Regions from separate parts of the Homo sapiens genome. Here region 1 is linked to region 2. Evidence: promoter capture Hi-C in human tissues and cell types (Jung and others, 2019). All regions are on one chromosome and are shown on one strand. Each heading gives the region's core, a stretch centred on a gene start or on the middle of the fragment in contact. The rest is flanking DNA. Distances are from core to core; before and after follow the strand shown. Region 1 overlaps FRMD5 (FERM domain containing 5). Region 2 holds the start of SERINC4 (serine incorporator 4).

Region 1 (5,690 bases), core at 1,995-4,494, 71 kb before region 2:
GGCCTACAGCCCTGCAGACAGCGTGCTGCCCACCCCTGTGGCTGAGCACAGCCTGGAGCTGATGTTGCTTTCCCGGCAGATCAATGGAGCCACCTGCAGCATTGAGGAGGAGAAGGAATCTGAAGCCAGCACCCCAACTGCTACAGAGGTGGAGGCCCTTGGGGGAGAGCTGAGGGCCCTGTGTCAGGGGCACAGCGGGCCCGAGGAGGAACAGGTGAATAAGTTTGTTCTAAGTGTCCTCCGTTTGCTCCTTGTGACCATGGGACTCCTCTTTGTTTTGCTCCTCCTCCTGATCATCCTTACCGAGTCTGACCTTGACATTGCCTTTTTCCGTGATATCCGCCAGACCCCCGAGTTTGAACAATTCCACTATCAATACTTTTGTCCCCTCAGGCGATGGTTTGCCTGCAAAATCCGCTCAGTGGTGAGCCTGCTCATTGACACCTGAGAAGGCATGACTCCTCCCAAAAACTAGCCAGGTGGACCAAGGAACCCGGCTACCCATTCCCAGCAATGGGACCCATCGCGGAACCATCGGCACATATACCAAGTCCTCCTCTCATGACTCAAAGTCCACTGCAGCCTAGGAGGGTGTTTCCCAGAAGAAGAAAGGGATAGGCTCATGCCCTGTCTAAACAAACTGGGAAAACTCATTTTCTTCAGAAGTTATTTCAAGAAAGGCTCAGCGACTCTGTTTCTCATCTTTCCAATTTGCAGGATAATTTTTGGTTTTGAATTTTGATTTTTCATAGATGTATATTATTTTGAAGTATCAAATAAAAATAATTTATTTTACTATTACTGATTATTGCAGTAGTATCACCTAGCAGAGGGGACACTAGTTGAAAACTAGAGAGCTGCTGTCCTCTGTATTCTGCAGGAGCTTTTCCTGCTGGTGCCACTGGGTTCCAGTAGACTCATCACTGCAGCCTCAGCAGGGCAGGCCAGGGATCTGGACAATGGGGACTGTTTAGTTTTTTGTTTGTTTTTTTTGCCAGCCAGAACTTTTAAAAAAGTAAACATCCATGTAGAATGATTAAATGGAAAGTTGCTTCTTATGATGGTCTGAGTTGGATTTTCTTTTCCTTTTGTTTTTTCAAATCTGAGCAGAGTGGGCATCTGAAGGGACCACCGCTACAGCAACAGCAGCATCAGGGGTGGGGTAAGTCTGTCCCCTTAGTCTAGAGCCTAGTGGGCATCACCATAGTTTTGTATAATGAAACTAGACTTAACGTGATTTTTTTTTTCCGAAGAACCTCAAGACTTTTATAGTGCTCCAGGGGCGTTAAACGAATTCAGTGGTACCAGAGATAGATAGTTCTGTCAGAAATGTTGGACAAAGTGTAGTTAAGAGAAAGCAGAGTTAAGTTACCTGAGAGACTGTTGAGATTTGGATAGCAGTGCTTATTTTATATACACCCCCTTGACCCAAAGACTATTTCAATTTATATTTTAACAACGAAATGTTATTTTCTTAACAATTCATATTTTGTTTTTACTTTATGGATTAAGAAAATAGAGCCTGATGAACTAAACGATGCAAGAAAGAAACTGATCCTGAGAATGAAAAGCTTCAGAAAATAGAATTCCAAGATCAACAGCCTTAGAAGGGACCAGGAAAAGAATCTTTTAAAATAGATTTCTAAGAGATGCCTACAAAACACAGAATGTGACCGTGGCAGAGACCAACACTTAGATGTAGAAATGCTGCCCCCTAGGGTCATCCTCTGCATAAGTTCTAGGAAAGCATCACCATCCTTGCAGAGGGAAGTCCTCGAAGCACGCAGCACAGGCATATGAAGGGCGAGTGTGGGATCCTAGGCCCAAGCTCTTCAACTCTAAAACCAATCACACACAAGATCCTGTTTTCATCTCAGGGAGAGATTTCTAAGTCATCTGGGGCTTGAGGGCTTATTTAAGGGTGGTCAATGGACATATTCCTGGACCCACACAAAAGTAGAGCAGCTGCTGATACCCTAATTGGACAGCCCCAAACGCAGAACAGAACAAGTCACTTGTAGACTTGACCTCCCCTATTTTGTCCCCCGAGATGGTAGAACCATGTCCATGTTTACAATATGACAACTGTGGAATAATTGGGGTTCTTAGGGAGAGATTTGCATAATTTTAAAGACATCCTTTCATCTGGACCAGAGGTCAATCAACTTATGTCAAGTGCTACACAGTAAATATTTTGGTTTAGCACGCCATACTGTGTCACAACTGCTCAATTCTGCCATCACAGCACAAAAACAGCCACAGATAATTTGTAAATGAAGGAACATGGCTGTGTTCCAATAAAACTTTATGAAAACAGTGAGCTGAATTTAGCCTACAGGCCATAATACGCCAATCCTGCTCTAGACAATAAAACTGATCCTTACCAGTATGTTAGCAGAAGAGGGTCAGTCAGCTCTGTTTCCATGCCTGACATGTATCAAAGATCTGGGACCTCTTCCCAGTGGAGGCACTAGGGTTGCTTGTTTAAAGGGTGCTTGAACAACTAACCAGCAAAGAGATGTCTGATGCCAAATGGGCAAGATCAAATACTGGAATGCTAAAACACAGCTGGAATCTAAGAAGGGAAGAGGGCTTCTCTGACCATTTTCATACCAGCAACAATTTAGGCAGAATTATAAACATCTATTTATCGAGTGACAATACAAACCGAAGGAGATCCTAGTAGAGATTAGGGGTCAGTTAAAATCAACTAGCCACTGCCACTTGTCATCTACATAGCAAAGGCTTTATTTAGCACAGGACTAACGTGAAAAGTAGACCCAGAGATGAAAAGGCTGTCAGGAGACAGGGGGCTGGTGTCCACCTGGTATCTACTGTCTTATGCAACATAGAAGATTACCTTTTAGTGTAGTGCTCCTACCTCAGTTTGTAGAATCTGGTGTTTCTATGCAGTGAGTGATAGCCTCAACTCTGACCTTTCATATTCACATTAGAGACAGATGCAGTATTCCATATCCTAGTATGTTCCTTGTGTCTAGAGTTCTAACAGTACAGTAGTCTATGCCATTTCTAACAGCTAAATTTTGCTCTGTAAACAGAAACTTTAGGGTTGTTTTTTTCCAGGGCTCATCCCAGAAAATATGGATAGAAAAGTTTCCTTCAGTTTGCTTTTCAAATAGTGCTTGAATAATAAACCTCCTTTGATTGGTGACTAGTCTTTTTTGGTATATCTCCACCTTTAAAAATTGTTCAAGTTTTTAACCTGGTTATACTGTGTTCTAACATGTCTCTCATTTTCTCTCAAAATTAGTTTATCTCATTGTAGAAAAAGCAATGGTTTTCATAGCTTCATCTATCAGGAAATAAAACTCTTACTAAAGAATAGCATACTGCATCTTTAAGCAGTAGAGGGTAAACTACCTGCAAATGTGAATTTCTTAGATACATTTAAAAATATATAGTTGTTAACCTTCTGTGTGCCAAAAACTCTTAAGTTACATTTTCCTTCAAAGCAATGTACTTTTTTCTACATATGCAGTATGTAGTTAGCATAAAATCATTGGTGCCATGAAGATTATTTTTAAACTTAAATAAATATTTAAATATCATGGAAGAGTGGGCTCTTTCTTTAATAATAGCCTGTCTTACTTTTCCTCCCTTAAAGTTACTAACACATAGATAAAAGGATACTGGTGGGATTTACACAGCTGACTACTATTCACTTGGATCATATAACATAATTATTTTGCTTGTATCCACCTATTATCCTTGTCCTTACCCCCAGATAAATACTGTTAGAAACTGAGAAGCGGCCAGGCACAGTGGCTCACGCCTGTAATCCCAGCCCTTTGGGAGGCCAAGTCGGGAGGATCACGAGGTCAGGAGTTCAAGACCAGCCCGACCAACGTGGTGAAACCCCCGTCTCTACTAAAAATACAAAAATTAGCCAGGTGTGGTGGCGGGCGCCTATAATTCCAGCTACTCAGGAGGCTAAGGTAGGAGAATCGCTTGAACCTGGGAGGCGGAGGTTGCAGTGAGCTGAGATCACACCACTACACTCCAGCCTGGGTGACAGAGCAAGACTCCACATCAAAAAAAAAAAAAAAAAAAAAAACTGAGAAGCTATATATGTAATAATTTTAAAGTGAATTGGGTATTTTTCTGATGAGGAAAACCAAGAAGACTAAGTGATTTTCCCAAGATTACATAGTGGTAGAGTCCAAACTAGAACCCAGATTGTCCACCTTCTGGTCTGCTGTTCTTACTCAAGCCTGGAGTAAGTGGGAGCACAGAAAATACTTTCTAAGAAGGAACTACAATGATACCACCACCACATATTTACAAAATATATCCCTATAGCATTATCTCATCTGATTATGTAACCATCACTCTGTGGCTACGGAATTGGAAATGGTCTTCTAAATTCCATGAGGATAAGAGGTGATAATGGGGGCTTGGTCCACTGTGCTAGCTTCTTACCTAATCTTTGTCTTTTCAATTCTGCCTGCCCTCCACTCTCCCATTTCTGTTGCCAGATCATCCTCCTAAACACCAATCAGGCTATGTTACCTCCAAATTTCAGAGGTACCCACTACCTAAAAAATGCTATCTAGCACCCTATCCCCAGCGGAATTTTTTGTTTTTATGACATAAGATTTTGCTTGAAGTGATCCAAAGAGTAAAAAGCACAAGAAACACTGGACCTGGGTGGCTTCCCGTGGCCCTGCCGATTCACAGCAGCCTCCCTTCTGCTGACAGCTTATCAAGAACTACCTGTGCACACACCCCTGTAGGACTCTAGTCCCTACTCCCTCTGCTTTGGGTTCCTCTAGCACAATCTAGCTCCTCTGCACCTGAACACACTTTTGGTTTTAGCTCATGAACAGGCTTCCTCTTCAGACCCCTACGACCTGCTGATGGAATGGAGTAAAACAAGCAAAGCACCCTTTTAATAAATTTCCTCTTGCCCAGTTTCCATTTTGGGGAAAATGTATCATAAAATGTTTTGTTCTTCAGCTCCGTGTAAGTGTACTAAATGTTATCTTCCTCATAAATTCTACCTTTTCATTTGAAAATCCAAGTATTTACAGCCAAATAAGTCAAAATACAATCTGCTGTCTTGTTATTTCTAGCCATCAACACCCTACTAAAAAGCAGGGGGAAATGTACTAAGTCAGAAAGGACCGCCCAATAGGACATTGAAGTTTTTGGAATCTGAAGTTAGAGGGCATATATTTCCTCTTCTCAGATTGATTCAGAAGGCATGTGTGTCTTCTCCCCCACCCTACCCCATGTACTGTACATTAGCTGAAAGGATTTAAATCCTTGTATCCATAGCCCTAAGGCTCCCTGTTTTCCTGGAGAACTCCCCTTGCAAAATCTTCTTGGTGGAAAGGAAGCTCAAAGACCAGAATACTAAAATAGGACTTAAGCAACTCAGATTCTATTAATTCCTAATCATTTGTGGTCTCTCCTAGTCTGACAAAGTCTCTGACAACCAAAAATGAGAATTGTCTGCTCCTTCCTTAAAAGTTACATAACAAAAGCCTGGGTATCTTAAAAAAAAAAAAAAAAAAAAACTCAAGCGGAATTCAGAGCTTAAGAGATATCATAAAGGCCAAACTTACAGAAAAGGCTTATCCCGAAGGAGGCAATCATAATACACACATAATTACAGAAGCCACACAGCTGTAGGCAAGTCTGTGGGAGAAGTACCTTTCACTACAGAT
Region 2 (5,775 bases), core at 3,276-5,775:
GAACAATGCATTACTTCTACCTTAGGTTTAGGAGTAATATACCCGGAAATCTAAGCTCATGGAAACATGTTTTCCATTTTTGCTTGGAGTCCGTTTTTCTAGTTGTACATACTTTTTGATCCATATATGTGTGCATGTCAAGAAATAAAAGAATCACACAACAAGGAGATTTTTAGCATGATACTGGAAATAAAATGTCCAAGCTGACAAGTATTAATTGCCTATTAAAGTAAAAGATAACAATTGTCAGGCAGAAGGTGTTTCACATTTTGATAATTCCCTTTGATCTCAGAAACAAGCTCAGGTACTAGCTTGGCTTTAGGTAGCATCTGGATTTATTCCATGACCAAATACAGATGTTTTTGAGAAGACCAAGGTCTTCTCACATCCTTTAAATGTCCCACTGGAAGAATCAAATAGTTTAGTGTCGTACGATAAAAATGAATGCAAATAATTACTATGAGGTGGTAAATACATAAAGATGAACACAGGTACAAGTCACTGTTGTGTGGGATACAATCTAAGAATTATCCTAGAGTCAGAATGAGGGTAAGGCCTTGAAACTCTTGGAGAAATGTCTGTAATTGCCATTTGAGTGTCCTTACAGCAGACTCAGGGGCCGTTGCAGGGTTTTTTTTTTGTTTGTTTGTTTGTTTTAAAGAGACGGCTCTGTTGCCCAGGCTAGAGTGCCTCAGCCTCCCGAGTAGCTGGGACTACAGGCGCCTGCCACCATGCCTGGCTAATTTTTGTATTTTTAGTAGAGACGGGGTTTCACCATGTTAGCCAGGATGGTCTTGATCTTCACTTCGCGATCCGCCCGCCTCAGCCTCCCAAAGTGCTGAGATTACAGGCGTTGAGCCACTGTGCCTAGCTGGGGCCGTCACAGTTTTATAGTTGAGGAAACTAGTTCAACATGTGTGAGTTGGTCCAAGCTGATTTTTTTTTTTTTTTTTTTTGAGATGGAGTTTCACTCTTGTTGCCCAGTCTGGAGTGCAGTGGCGCGATCTCTGCTCACTGCAACCTCCTGGGTTCAAGAGATTCTCCTGCCTCAGCCTCCCTAGTAGCTGGAATTACAGGCGTCCACCACCACACCCAGCTAATTTTTTTTTGTACTTTTAGTAGAGATGGGGTTTCACCATTTTGGCCAGGCTCGTCTCAAACTCCTGATCCCAGGTGATCCACCTGCCTCGGCCTCCCAGAGTGCTGGGATTATAGGCATGCGCCACCACGCCCGGCCCTGATTAACCTTTAAAGTAAAATTACCTTCTCTCTAGGATAGGAAATGGCATGTAGAATGTATTATGGCTTAGAATTTGAATACCAATCAAAACCTTTCATAGGTTTTTTTCGTTTTGAGACAGTCTTGCTCTGTCGCCCAGGCTGGAGTGCAGTAGCACAATCTCAGCTCACTGCAGCCTCAACCTCCCAGGCTCAAGCAAATCCATCTCAGCCTCCAGAGTATCTGGGACCACAGACAGGCACATGCCACCATGCCTGGCTTTTTTTTTTTTTAATTTTAGTAGAGACAAGGTCATGCTATGTTGCCCAGGCTGGTCTGGAAATCCTGACCTGACACAGTCCTCCCAGCCCAGCCTCCCCAAAGTGCTGGGGTTACAGGCATGAGTCACCACACCTGGCCCAACCTTTGATATCTTCTAGTCTTACCATGTTCTAACCCTCAGGTACCTAAATTCTTTTTTTGGTGGTGGGGGGAGCGCGGTAGAGACGAAATCTCACTGTGTTGCCCAAGCTGGTCTCAAACTGCTGGGCTCAAGTGATCGTCTTGCCTCAGCTTCCCAAGGTGTTGGGATTACAGGCATGAGCCACCATGCCTGGCCCCTAAATTCTTTTTTGTTGTTTTGTTTTTGAGACAGTCTCGCTCTGTCACCCAGGCTGGAGTACAGTGGCACAATCTCAGCTCACTGCAACTTCCGCCTCCCTGGTTCAAGCAATTCTTCTGCTTCAGCCTCCTGAGTAGCTGGGACTACAGGCATGCACCACCACGCCTGGCTAATTTTATTTTTTTTGTATTTTTAGTAGAGACAGGGTTTCACCATGTTGGCCAGGCTTGTCTTCAACTCCTGACCTCATGATCCGACTGCCTCAGCCTCCCAAAGTGCTGGGATTACAGGTGTGAGCCACTGTGCCCGGGCTTTTTTTTTTTTTTTTTTTTTTGAGATGGAGTTTCACTCTTTCCCCCAGGCTGGAGTACAGTAGTACAGTAGTGTGATCTCAGCTCACTGCAACCTCTGCTTTCCAATTTCAAGCGATTCCTGCCTCAGCCTCCAGAATAGCTGGGATTATAGGCGCCCACCACCATGCCCAGCTAATTTTTCTATTTTCAGTGGAGACGGGGTTTCACATGTTGGCCAGGCTGGTCTTGAATTCCTGACCTCGTGATCTACCTGCCTCGACCTCCCAAAGTGCTGGGATTAGAGGTGTGAGCCACAGCACCCAGCCAAATTATTTTTTTTTAATCACTCAAAATCAAGCATGTTGTAGGTACCAAAATTCTAACTCAAGGTGGCCTATGAACTGGGTTCATAACCTACATCTATCTATATATATAGTGGCTCCTAGGCAGGTAGCTGGCCTTTTAGATATTCATAAGCTGTCTTGGAGACACATGCCATTTGAGTACAGTAACTCTGCTGAGACTCCAGATGTACCTTGAATACTGTTGAGAGCTAGTCAGATGAATGAGACTGGCCTGCCACCTAGCATCTGCACATGAGGTATTCTTCTACACTGATTTTTCATACAGGTGTGCTAGATTTTAATGGGTCACTTAAATTCAGTTAGTCTCCAACATATAAATTCTCCACAACATAGGATATAGTATACACTCTACTTGACCCAAGATGATAAAACTGAAAAAGACAAAAAAAAATTTTATTGCCATAAATTAATCCAGTAGGTATATTTGAGAAAGCACGCATCAGTTGGTTAGGGCAATAAGCGCCTCTACCACGTTGCCCATGTGTTCCCGCAAACTGCGTTCTGCTGCTGCTCGAGATATCTCCATCTCAGTCATCTGCAGAAAAAAATCATGTTACATAGGTTCCCAGGCATTAATGTGCCACCAAATATACTGACTCCGCTTGTTTCAGGAAACAACCCAAATTAAGCAGAATAGCCTCCCCTCCGCATACACTAGTTAGGCACTACCACTCACTATTAGCTCCAGATCTTCCTTCTTGATAGTGACTTTTGCCAGTTCTTTCTCCCTGCAAAAATATTTAAATATATTAGTCCTCATTCTCAACCAACACCATAAACTCCCAGGAAGGGTCATTCCCAGAAGTGCCCTGTAAATAAATCTTGATAAACCCTTGATTGAAAATAAAAACTCCCACTAATACTCCTTTCCCCTGGAGTCTTGGCAGCAGGTGTTGCCAGGAGGCCTTCTGCTAACAAGAGTAAAGTTGTGGCGCCTAGATCTGCAGGAATTGGTGATAAATTTGAAGAACGGTATAAAGGCTTAATAATGGTTTTTATTTTTGTCTGGGGACCGGGGAGGGAAGAACTGTTAAAGTTGGCTGCCCCTGAAGACTTACCGCTCCTGTTTGGCTTTCTGCTCCCGGGACCTTCTGTCTCCAATCACAGACATGGCCTATGGGAAAGGCAGGTCTAGTTACTGCACCGCTACCCACAATTCCCAATAATCTAAAAGGCCAACAAAACAAGCGGTTCATGCATGGATTCACGATGACAAGTGTTACCAGGTAGCAAGGACTATGTTTAATTCCATTCTATGCACCTGAGGTCCCCTTAAGCCCACTATCAAGCTCCTTTAGGCAAGCGGCGCGCTCCGGTGACCGCTGTTTCCCTCGGCTCTACCCTATTGCCTCCTCCTGCCAACGGGATCAGAACCCCGTCTTGGAGCGCTGGCTTCCAGCTACAGCCTCAGAGCCCCCCTCTGCTCTCAGCCCGCCCCGACATGCTCTTGGCCAACCTTACCGTCTCCAGATTGGAACTCTGGATCTCCTTCTCCTCTGCATAGTCGGTGACCCGCTCCAAGTCCGCCGCACCGCTGTCATGTTTCCGTGGCTTCTCCGGAGGCCGCTCTGGTCCACTGGTCTCAGTCTCCAACTCCAGCTCCACATCCCCCTCGGTCGCCATATCTATTTCACCACGCCGCCGCATAAGCCCCACCTCACGCCGACTTCCGGCAACTGACACAGCTTCCGCCCGGGGAGGAGGCGGGGCTGGCCCTGGGCCACACCTTCTTTCTGCTCCAGTTCTAGAAGCTTCAGGGAGGAAGGCGGTTCGTCTCTCAGACTTCCTTTCGGGTTTGTACAGTGTTTTGTGCGAGGCCTTCTCTCAGACCTAACCCGACACCGCTCCAGCCCACCCCACCGATATCCTTAACCACCTCATAAACTAGGAATAGTCCCCTCAACACATAAACACGCACCCACCCACCTCAGGGAACTCCGTTCAACCTGAATGACGTCTAATCCTAAACCAATAAAGAATGCTAATCCACAGGGGGCCAGATAGACAAACTGCCCCCTAATCTGGAGAGAACAGCCTGAGTGGCCGCAGTGTTGAGGCCCTAAGGACAAAGCTCCTTCACAGGGCATTTGCATTTACCGCAACCTGGAGGTCAGTGTTCTCTTCCGGACGTCTCCATTCTGCCCGGGACCGGGTGCTCAGCCCCAACACAGTGGCAGTCCAATGGGCTGAGGACAGAAGCAACTGCTGCTCTCATCTGCCTTCCATCTGGTGGACCTAAGCCTAATCCCTGGGACAAGGATGGTGGGTGCCAAGGCCGGCCCCAGCCCCGGCACCTCCCTGGGCCTGGCACAGCAGCACAGCGGAGGCAGCAGTGTCCTAGTGAAAAGTCCCTTCTGTCAGGTGAGAGGGTGCGAAGGGGAGAGTGGCCGAAGCTGGGGAGGAAGACGTGCAGAAGCCAATAAAAACGACAGGCCTCTTTTCTCCTCTAATGTCGTTCTGGTTCGTTGCCCCAGGTATAATCTGTAAATCTCTCCCGCCATGTTTCCAGCCCCAGGTGTTTAGGTCGAGAGAAAGGTCAGATATCTCAAGCCTGCTTATAATGAAAGCCCTACTAAGTTGTCAGTGGGCGGCAATCCCAAATGGCTGGAATCAGCTTGAAACAGAACCTGAGTAAAAGGAAGAAAGGGGAAGGGGAAATTTTGGAATTCAACCTCCTGGGTTAACCTCACACATACATTAACGTATGCCTTTCCTCAGCAAGTCTCCACCTCGCTGCCTTGCATCTGCTCTACTCCCAGGTGTGCTGCTGTGGGCCTGCTCCTTGTGCCAGCTGCTGCCACTCTAGGTGGCCCTCTCTCACCGCATCCACTTGCAGCCGCCTGTTCTACATCCTCCTCCATGTGGGGGCCTCAGCAATCTGCTGCCTCCTGCTGTCAAGGACAGTAGTGGAAAGGGTGTGGGGCAAGACACACAGGGTAAGTGAGAGGGGGTCGGGTTGTCAGGTGGGAAGAGATAAAAGGAAAAACCCTAAGATAGAAAAGGTTTCGGTTGGGGGCAGGAGACAAATGAGTGGTCATACCCGTGACAAGTAGGTACCTTTCCATGCATTATGACTTGTCCTGCCATTTCTCTCACACACACTCCCAGATCCAGATGCCCTCGGGGTTGTGTGCCCACCTGTTTGGCCTCTCTGACTGTCCAGTGCTCAGTGGCTCTGGGGCTGTGTACCGAGTATGTGCAGGAACCGCCACCTTCCACCTGCTGCAGGCTGTGTTGCTGGTCCACCTCCACTCCCCCACCAGCCCGCGGGCACAG

What was found. Contacts are between HindIII fragments. The study calls those that stand out against the background at their distance.
Region 1: a contact is called between a fragment that was not itself captured here and the fragment with the promoter of SERINC4 in region 2, in 3 of the 25 tissues and cell types used here (aorta, dorsolateral prefrontal cortex and hippocampus).

Annotation. Positions count from the first base shown.
Region 1 is chr15:43,868,643-43,874,332 of GRCh38, reverse strand. It overlaps FRMD5 (FERM domain containing 5), which reads left to right. Exons shown (of 14, transcript NM_032892.5): 14 at 1-3,569. The coding sequence ends at 448. Among named protein-coding and RNA genes, the nearest start is that of WDR76, 44 kb to the right of the region's middle. The HindIII fragment of the contact is 6,836 bases long and covers 1-5,690 here.
Region 2 is chr15:43,798,970-43,804,744 of GRCh38, reverse strand. It overlaps SERINC4 (serine incorporator 4), which reads left to right and starts at 4,525. Exons shown (of 12, transcript NM_001258031.2): 1 at 4,525-4,860; 2 at 5,259-5,435; 3 at 5,608-5,775. The coding sequence starts at 4,759. It overlaps HYPK (huntingtin interacting protein K), which reads right to left and starts at 4,146. Exons shown (of 4, transcript NM_016400.4): 1 at 3,961-4,146; 2 at 3,558-3,613; 3 at 3,176-3,227; 4 at 318-3,034. The coding sequence starts at 4,122. The coding sequence ends at 2,939. SERF2-C15ORF63 (SERF2-C15orf63 readthrough) reads right to left here. Exons shown (of 6, transcript NR_037673.1): 3 at 3,961-4,250; 4 at 3,558-3,613; 5 at 3,176-3,227; 6 at 2,156-3,034. It overlaps MFAP1 (microfibril associated protein 1), which reads left to right. Exons shown (of 9, transcript NM_005926.3): 9 at 1-253. RefSeq lists enhancers at 3,870-4,119, 4,027-4,727, 4,728-5,428. The HindIII fragment of the contact is 6,811 bases long and covers 582-5,775 here.